2 separate regions of the Homo sapiens genome follow, and region 1 is linked to region 2. Evidence: promoter capture Hi-C in human tissues and cell types (Jung and others, 2019). All regions are on one chromosome and are shown on one strand. The core of a region is centred on a gene start or on the middle of the fragment in contact, and the rest is flanking DNA. Distances in the headings are between cores, read along the strand shown.

Region 1 (3,837 bases), core at 1,338-3,837, 150 kb after region 2:
GACTTAGACTAATGATGGTTACAGATGCAATTCACAAGGAGATTTGTTTTTTTGTGTGACATACAACAATTTAACATAATAATTATAATTTTGAGCCAGGCGTGGTGGCTCATACCTGTAATCCCTGCACTTTGGGAGACCAAGGCAGGAGGGCTGCTTGAGCTCAGGAGTTCGAGATGAGCCTGGGTGGCACAGCAAGATCCTGTCTCCAAAATAATAAATAAATAAATAAAGACAGCATGAGGCAAACTCTCTACTCCTCCTTTTTTTTTGTGAGACAGAGTCTCACTCTTGTTGCCCAGGCTGGAGTGCAGTGGCACAATCTCAGCTCACTGCAACCTCCGCCTCCCGGGTTCAAGCGATTCTCCTGCCTCGGCCTCCTGAGTAGCTGGGACTACAGGCAGGCGCCACCACGCCTGGCTAATTTTTGTATTTTTAGTAGAGATGGGGTTTCACCATCTTGGCCAGGCTAGTCTCAAACGCCTGACCTCAGGTGATCCACCCACCTCGGCCTCCCAAAGTGCTGGGATTACAGGTGTGAACCACCGTACCGGGCCTACTCCTCCTTTTCTTGTAGTTTACTCAAAAGGTAAACAAAAATCTTTTACTGTCTCTTATTAATACTACATGAAAATCTTACTCAAAAATGAAAACTAAATTCTACCTTTACATTAGCATATTATTAATACTAAAGCTAATTTTAATAAAAACTTAAAAACAGATCCATTCAATCTCAATCAGCTTTGACCACATAAGATTTCCATAAACCTTTAATAACCTCTTAAAATTTGTTCCATTCTTTGTTTCTCAAACTTTCTATATATATTCAGTTTTATCTATCATTTTTTTATTCCTTTAATTTAAAACAACCTTTAAAAACATCAAAACTAGACAAAATTACTTTTCCTTTAACAAAAACCTCATTCTCATGCCTTCTTTATAACCTTCCTTACCAAAAACACATCCTACTTTCTTATAAACTTTGCATACAGAAGTGTTTCTCTTATATCTAGTAGTTTTAAATACATATATTAATTACAATGTTAACTCTTAGGAAGCCTAATTTTCAGTGAAAAACATGGGAAGTAAGCAATTTTAATTGTTATTAAAGATGCAAAGCCCAGGACAAAGGACAGAGCTTTAAAGACTGATATGGTTTGGCTGTGTCCCCACCCAAATCTCATCTTGAACTGTAGTTCCCAAAATCCACAGGTGTTGTGGGAGGGACCCAGTGGGAGGTGATTAGATGAAGGGGGCGGTTCCCCCACGCTGTTTTTGTGCTAGTGAGTTCTCACGAGGTCTCATGGTTTCATGAGGTGCTTCCCCACTCTTCGCTCTGCACACCTCCTTCCTGACCTCATGTGAAGAACGTGTTTGCTTCCTCTTCCGCCATGATTGTAAGTTTCCTGAGGCTTCCCAGCCACGCTGAACTGTGAGTCAATTAAACCTCTTTCCTTTACAAATCACCCAGTCTCAGGTATGTCTTTATTAGCAGTGTGAGAATGGGCTACTACAAAGACAATGCCTGGAGGACTCAACCCCTCCCAGCATGACCGGGGGGCACAGCTGGGCCAGGGAGGACAATGCTCGGGCACTGCAGACACACAGCATGACCGGGGGGCACAGCTGGGCAAGAGAGGACAATGCTCGGGCACTGCAGACACACAGCATGGCTGGGGCGCACAGCTGGGCTAGGGAGGACGGGGCTCAGGCACTGCAGACACACAGTATGGCCGGGGGGCACAGCTGGGCTAGGGAGGACGGGGCTCGGGCACTGCAGACAAACAGCATGACCGGGGGGTACAGCTGGGCCAGGGAGGATGGGGCTTAGGTACTGCGGACACACAGATGTCTCCAGGCCACATCATGTCCACTTGTCTTGACCCCAGAATGTAGAGGCTCAAAGCCAAAGACCTAAGTTCACAGACAAATTAAGCAAGTATCAGAAATATGACAGAAGCAAATTTTATGACCTTAAAGCATCTAACAGAGACTGTCTGAACCTGTCCGACCAATGGGCCCAAGCAAAGATGTCTCAATTATATTTAAGACTGACGACTTTGAAGATATTCTAATTTTAGCATCATTTTTTTTTTTGAGATGGAGTCTCACTCTGTCACCCAGGCTAGAGTGCAGTAGTGCAGTCTCGGCTCACTGCAACCTCTACCTCCCAGGTTCAAGTGATTCTCCTGCCTCAGCCTCCTGAGTAGCTAGGACTACAGGCGCATGCCACCACGCCTGGCTAATTTTTGTATTTTTAGTAGAGACGGGGTTTCACCATGTTGGCCAGGATGGTCTCGATCTCTTGACCTCGTGATTTGCCCGCCTCAGCCTCCCAAAGTGCTGGGATTACAGGTGTGAGCCACTGCACCCAGCAGCAACAATTTTAAAACTAAGTTTATTTGCCAAAGATTACTAGTCACATGAACTAGAAAAGCATCTGGGTTTAGTTACATCATTCATGAGCACTTATTTATTTATACGTCAATTTGCTACTATGTACATAATATACAAACAGGCATGTACACATAAAAATACAGACACAAATCAAGATTTTATAGCTTTAGTTTTAAGATTTTAGCCACGAATCGGGTAAAAATCACTAGTTTAAAAGGATACTTAAAATTGTGCCTCTGTAAATGGAACAAGGTAAAATTTATCTGTCTCACACGGCCAAAGCCCTTACCAAGTTTTAGAGAAAACAAGGCAACAAATTTACATCTTGAAGCACAGAGAAAAAAAAATTATTTTTATTTACTGAATTTTTTCAAGACGGAGTCTTGCTCTGTCGCCCAGGTTGGAGTGCAACGGCACGATCTTGACTCACTGCAACCTCTGCCTCCTTGGTTCAAGCAATTCCACAGGGAGAAAGTTTAAGCTTTGATTTAGTATGTTAAAGGAAGATTTTAAATGGATGCTGAGGTAACAAAAAGTCATAGAAATTCACCACAGGATTTTATAAGGACAACAATGTTATTTAAATATGTGGCTATTAATTTATTCTCCATTTTTGAACTAGACCACTGGGCTCAGGACAGAGCTCATTAATGAACATGGCCAAAAAAGCATTTGCAGTTTGGAGGACCTAATATTTAAATATGTGAAAAACAGGTGCAGCTGGAAGGCAGAGCATCTAGATCTTTTAAAATCAAGGATCCCACATTTACACTGAATGCTGAGTTCCCTCTAAAAAGAGATATATATGAGACAAAGCCATACAGTGTTTCCACAGTGTACCTCACTATGAAGACATTCCCCTGAGGCTGGTGGGAGACCCACAGCAATCAGCCCACGGAGTCTCAGCCTTTGACGCCAAGTGCTTCCATAGTCTCCAAGTGTTCAGATTGTGCCTTTCTCATCTAAACATGCAGAGAAACAAGCAGCCACTGCAGGAACAACCATTCACTACAACTGCTTTCAGCCACCTCCAAAACTGTGAGGCAGCCCTCGCCAGTGACCTGCCGGCCATCACACACACTCAGGTCATGCACTGTCTCACAGTGCAACGTAATCCCTGGTACCCCCAAAGCCAAAGAGATCCAGTGACACAGTGCCAAAGACAGCCAAGCTTTAGACCCGAGAGGAAGCTACCCACGACTCCTCAGGCCCCATAAGGAAGACAAAAGCGGGGCGCGTGGCACCTTTCTTTGCGTTCCCCAAGGGGTCTCTAAGTCATCAGAAGTCCCTTGTAGATCCCTTCATTAGGTACCAAAGATGGCAAAGGGGATGGAGGAGCACGGAGGGGTAGAAGTAAATGGGACTGCAATCCTTAGAGGAGCCAATTTGGAAAAATGTTAAGGTTCTAAAAGGCCAATACAATTTTACATTTTTCTCATC
Region 2 (3,596 bases), core at 1,063-3,562:
GGGATGTTGATGGGGCACTGAATATTTGCTGGACACCAACCTCCTGTTACCTAACCTTACAGAGGGCCCAGATCTCACCTGCCCAAATCAGACATTTTAACACACACACCTCTCAACAGCAGGACTTACAGACACAAAACTCTGAGGTAAAGGATTGTCTCAACTCCCTGGTGTCTCAACGAACTAAAACACTGCCTAGCGCAGGTGCACCATCAACCTTATTCACTAAATACACCTCTGTATATATTCTTCATCTTTGATTGTGGAAATGATATAATCAACATAAAAATGTTTTATAGATTGGACTAAAGACCTTTGAGGTCTCTTCACAGGATCCTATCTGGCGGACCCCCAAATCTGCCAACACAGAGGTCATCCGTAAACACGTGCAGGACAGAGGCCAGACAAAACCATCTCTCTCAGCCTCAAAGTGGCCTGGCAGTCACATGTGGGGTCTGGCCTGTATGAGGAAGTCAGGCTTTCGGCTCCAGGCACCCTACTGCACCGCAAAACCAAGTTCTGCCTAAGAAACAAAAAACAGCCTGCTCACTCTCCCTAATATCCCAGGTGGTAACCTAAGAGCATTATCTGCTAGACACCCCTCCTCCTCCACCCTCCATGTCCAAGCTATCACCAAGGTCCTAGCAATCTTACCTCCTAAATGTCTCCCAAATCCACTTCTCTCCCTTCACTGTCCAGGCCACCAGCATGACTTCTGCATGTGTGTAGCAGCCTCCGCGCAGGACGTAAAGATGCAAATCTAGTCGTAGGCTCTCTGAAAGGAAAATTTTGGGGACCCAAAATTACTAAGCTAAAGGAAAAGTCAAGCTGGGAACTGCTCAGGGCAAACCTGCCTCCCTTTCTATTCCAAGTCACCTATCTCCTCACTAAGATAGGTGCATATCTGATTCCCTGCTTTGGAGAGGCTAATCAGAAACTCAAAACAATGCAACCTTTGTCTCTCACCTACCTGTGACCTTGGAAGCCCCCTCCCTGCTTCCAGTTGTCCCCAGCTTTCTGGATGGAAGCAACGTACTTCTTACATATATTGATTGATGTCTCATGTCTCCCTAAAACCAAGCTGTGCCCTGACCACCTTGGGCACATGTCGTCAAGACCTCCTGAGGCTGTGTCACGGGTGCACCTCTTTCTAAATTACCTGAAACCATCTCAGATAGGGTTCACACATCCCTTTCCCAAACCCTCCCAGGAGCCCCTCGTGGGCGCCCAGGTCCTGCGTGCTGTTGTGGCCCAGGCTCACCTGGAGCAACTCGACTCTTCGTTACAGCCTCGTGAACCTTTCAGTTCCTAAAGCTGTCTAGCCTGTGAAAGGAAAATGAATCTGGGGGCCCCAAAATCACTAAGCTAAAGGGAAAAAAGCTGGGAACTGCTTAGGGCAAACCTGCCTCCCCATCTATTCAAAGTCACCCCTCTGCTCACTGAGATAGGTTAATATGTGATAGCCTCCTTTGCGGAGGCTATTCAGAAACCCGAAAGAATACAACAGTTTGTCTCTCACCTACCTGTGACCTGGAAGCCCCCTCCCTGCTTCGAGTTGTCCCGCCTTTCCCGAGGGAACCAACGTTCATCTTACATATATTGATGTCTCCTGTCTCCCTAACATGTATAAAAGCAAGCTGTGTCCCGGCCACCTTTGGCACATGTCAAGACCTCCTGAGGCTGTGTCACGGGCGTGCGTCCTCAACCTTGGCAAAATAAACTTTCTAAATTGACTGAGACCGTCTCACATATTCGAGGTTCACAAGCCCATGCATGGGGACGTCCCCTGGGGTAGCGCCCCTCCTCCACTGAGCTCACTCGCTTCCCCCTTGTGTGTTTTCTTCAGAAGAAATTTCGCAGCTACTTGGTCCACACCTGTCTGCCCCACAGGAACCTCTCTTCTCCACAGGCACATGGGCGGCGTACCTGCTGGGCTGTGTGGAGAGGACCGGGTTCCTCTCCTGATTCCTGCTCAGTTAATAACGAATGTCGACAAGTCGAGAAAATTGCTCAAATTTACCCCATCAAAGAATTAAAAACTGGTGAAAGCTTGACCTGCGCCCCCCACCCCTGACGTGCTCACCGCTCCACTCCCTCTAGGCGGGCGGCACCCGCTGAAGCCTCGGTACCACACCCACAGCCAGGAGCCCCAGTCCCGCACTCGGCCGCATGCGCACTCCCTGCGGCCCTCCCGCCAGGCGCCGCGCTGGGCAGCCAGCGCCCCGGCGGGGTCCTTCAGGCCTTCGGCCGGGCAGCCTCCCTCGGGGTCCTTGTGCGGTTGCGTAGCAGCTGCGAGGACGCGGGCCGAGCCGGAAGTGGAGTGCGCTGCGGCGCGAGCTGGGCCGGCGGGCGTGGTTCGAGAGCGCGCAGAGTCCAGACTGGCGGCAGGGCCCGAGGGGCCGACCCGCAGCGTCCCTGGTCTCTCCAGCCCTCACTCGGAACCGCACGTGAGGGCAAATCCGCCCCGGTGGCTGGCTTAGCACGCGGGGACAGCCCCTCCGAGGCCTCCCTAGCGGTGTGGGCGAGAGGGCGTCCGGGTCGGGGGAAGCACGGAAAGGTGGCTTCGCGAGGCTGTTGTGGGGGGCGGGACGGGCAGCCTGGCGATGCCTGGACATGGTTGGTGGCCAAAAACATTTATCGAAAGATAGCTTACCCACTTAGATGGCAAGGACACGGACAAGCAAGTCTTCGCCCGTAAGCGGTGGCTCACGCCTATAGTCCAGGGATGCCGAGGAGGGAGGATCGCTTGAGTCCAGGAGTTGGAGGCTGCAGTGAGCCGTGATCGCGCCACCGCACTCCAGCCTGGGCGACAGAGTGAGACCCTATCTCTAAACAAAAGAAAGAACGTCTTCAAGCATGGAGCCATGAAGCTGGATTTGGCTTTCTGTCGCTCTCTCTACAGGGTACAGGTGAAAGGGGGCAGACCCCTCATCATGCTTTCCAGGCATCTGCCACTTCCCAGGAATTGTCTCCCTGGATAAACAAGGCGAAGTCCCTGGCTGTGCAGAAGCAGTAGCTGTGTGGTGGCACAGTCAGGAAAACTCGGGGGCCCTGTTGGTATTTTCTACCCCTGACCCGTGTGCATACTTCTGTCGTAGCTCTCACCACAGTAGACTCTGCTATCATTGTGTCTTCCATCCTCTGAACCCTGTGCAAGGTCTGCTCATGGTGAATGCCCAGTAAGGCTCACCTATTGCTGCTGTCTCATCATCATATCATTTCTATGTGCCCCCCTAGCTAAGAGTCTGGACTGTGGTTACATTCTCAGGAATGTTTGCAAAGTCATATTTAGGTGTGAGGAGAGTAAAACAGAGCTAGACATAATGTTGCACACAGCCTTTGGCACTGGATGCCTGGTGAATGTCTTGTGCAAATGGGTAACGTGAGGAGCAGCATTTGGGGTGCGCAGGACTTAACTATTTGTGTATAACATATTATTGATGCCTGTGTGTCATACTCTGCTACTCCAAGTCTAGTAGTCAATTGCATACCATATCTCAGTCTGGCACTGAGGGAAGCAGTCTGGAGGGAGGTACAGCTGGAGATTTGGTTGAGGGGACTTATCTCTGACAACAGCCTCTTGTTGATCTTCCCAG

What was found. Contacts are between HindIII fragments. The study calls those that stand out against the background at their distance.
Region 1: a contact is called between a fragment that was not itself captured here and the fragment with the promoter of RABL2B in region 2, in 2 of the 25 tissues and cell types used here (dorsolateral prefrontal cortex and mesenchymal stem cells).

The regions. Positions count from the first base shown.
Region 1 is chr22:50,633,620-50,637,456 of GRCh38, reverse strand. It overlaps LOC124905149 (a long non-coding RNA gene), which reads right to left. Exons shown (of 2, transcript XR_007068161.1): 1 at 2,759-3,837; 2 at 1,451-1,914. Among named protein-coding and RNA genes, the nearest start is that of ARSA, 7.4 kb to the right of the region's middle. RefSeq lists enhancers at 1,164-1,678, 1,679-2,195. The HindIII fragment of the contact is 5,037 bases long and covers 69-3,837 here.
Region 2 is chr22:50,782,352-50,785,947 of GRCh38, reverse strand. It overlaps RABL2B (RAB, member of RAS oncogene family like 2B), which reads left to right and starts at 2,312. Exons shown (of 9, transcript NM_001130919.3): 1 at 2,312-2,447. It also overlaps the pseudogene RPL23AP82. RefSeq lists a silencer at 2,141-2,380. The HindIII fragment of the contact is 9,824 bases long and covers 680-3,596 here.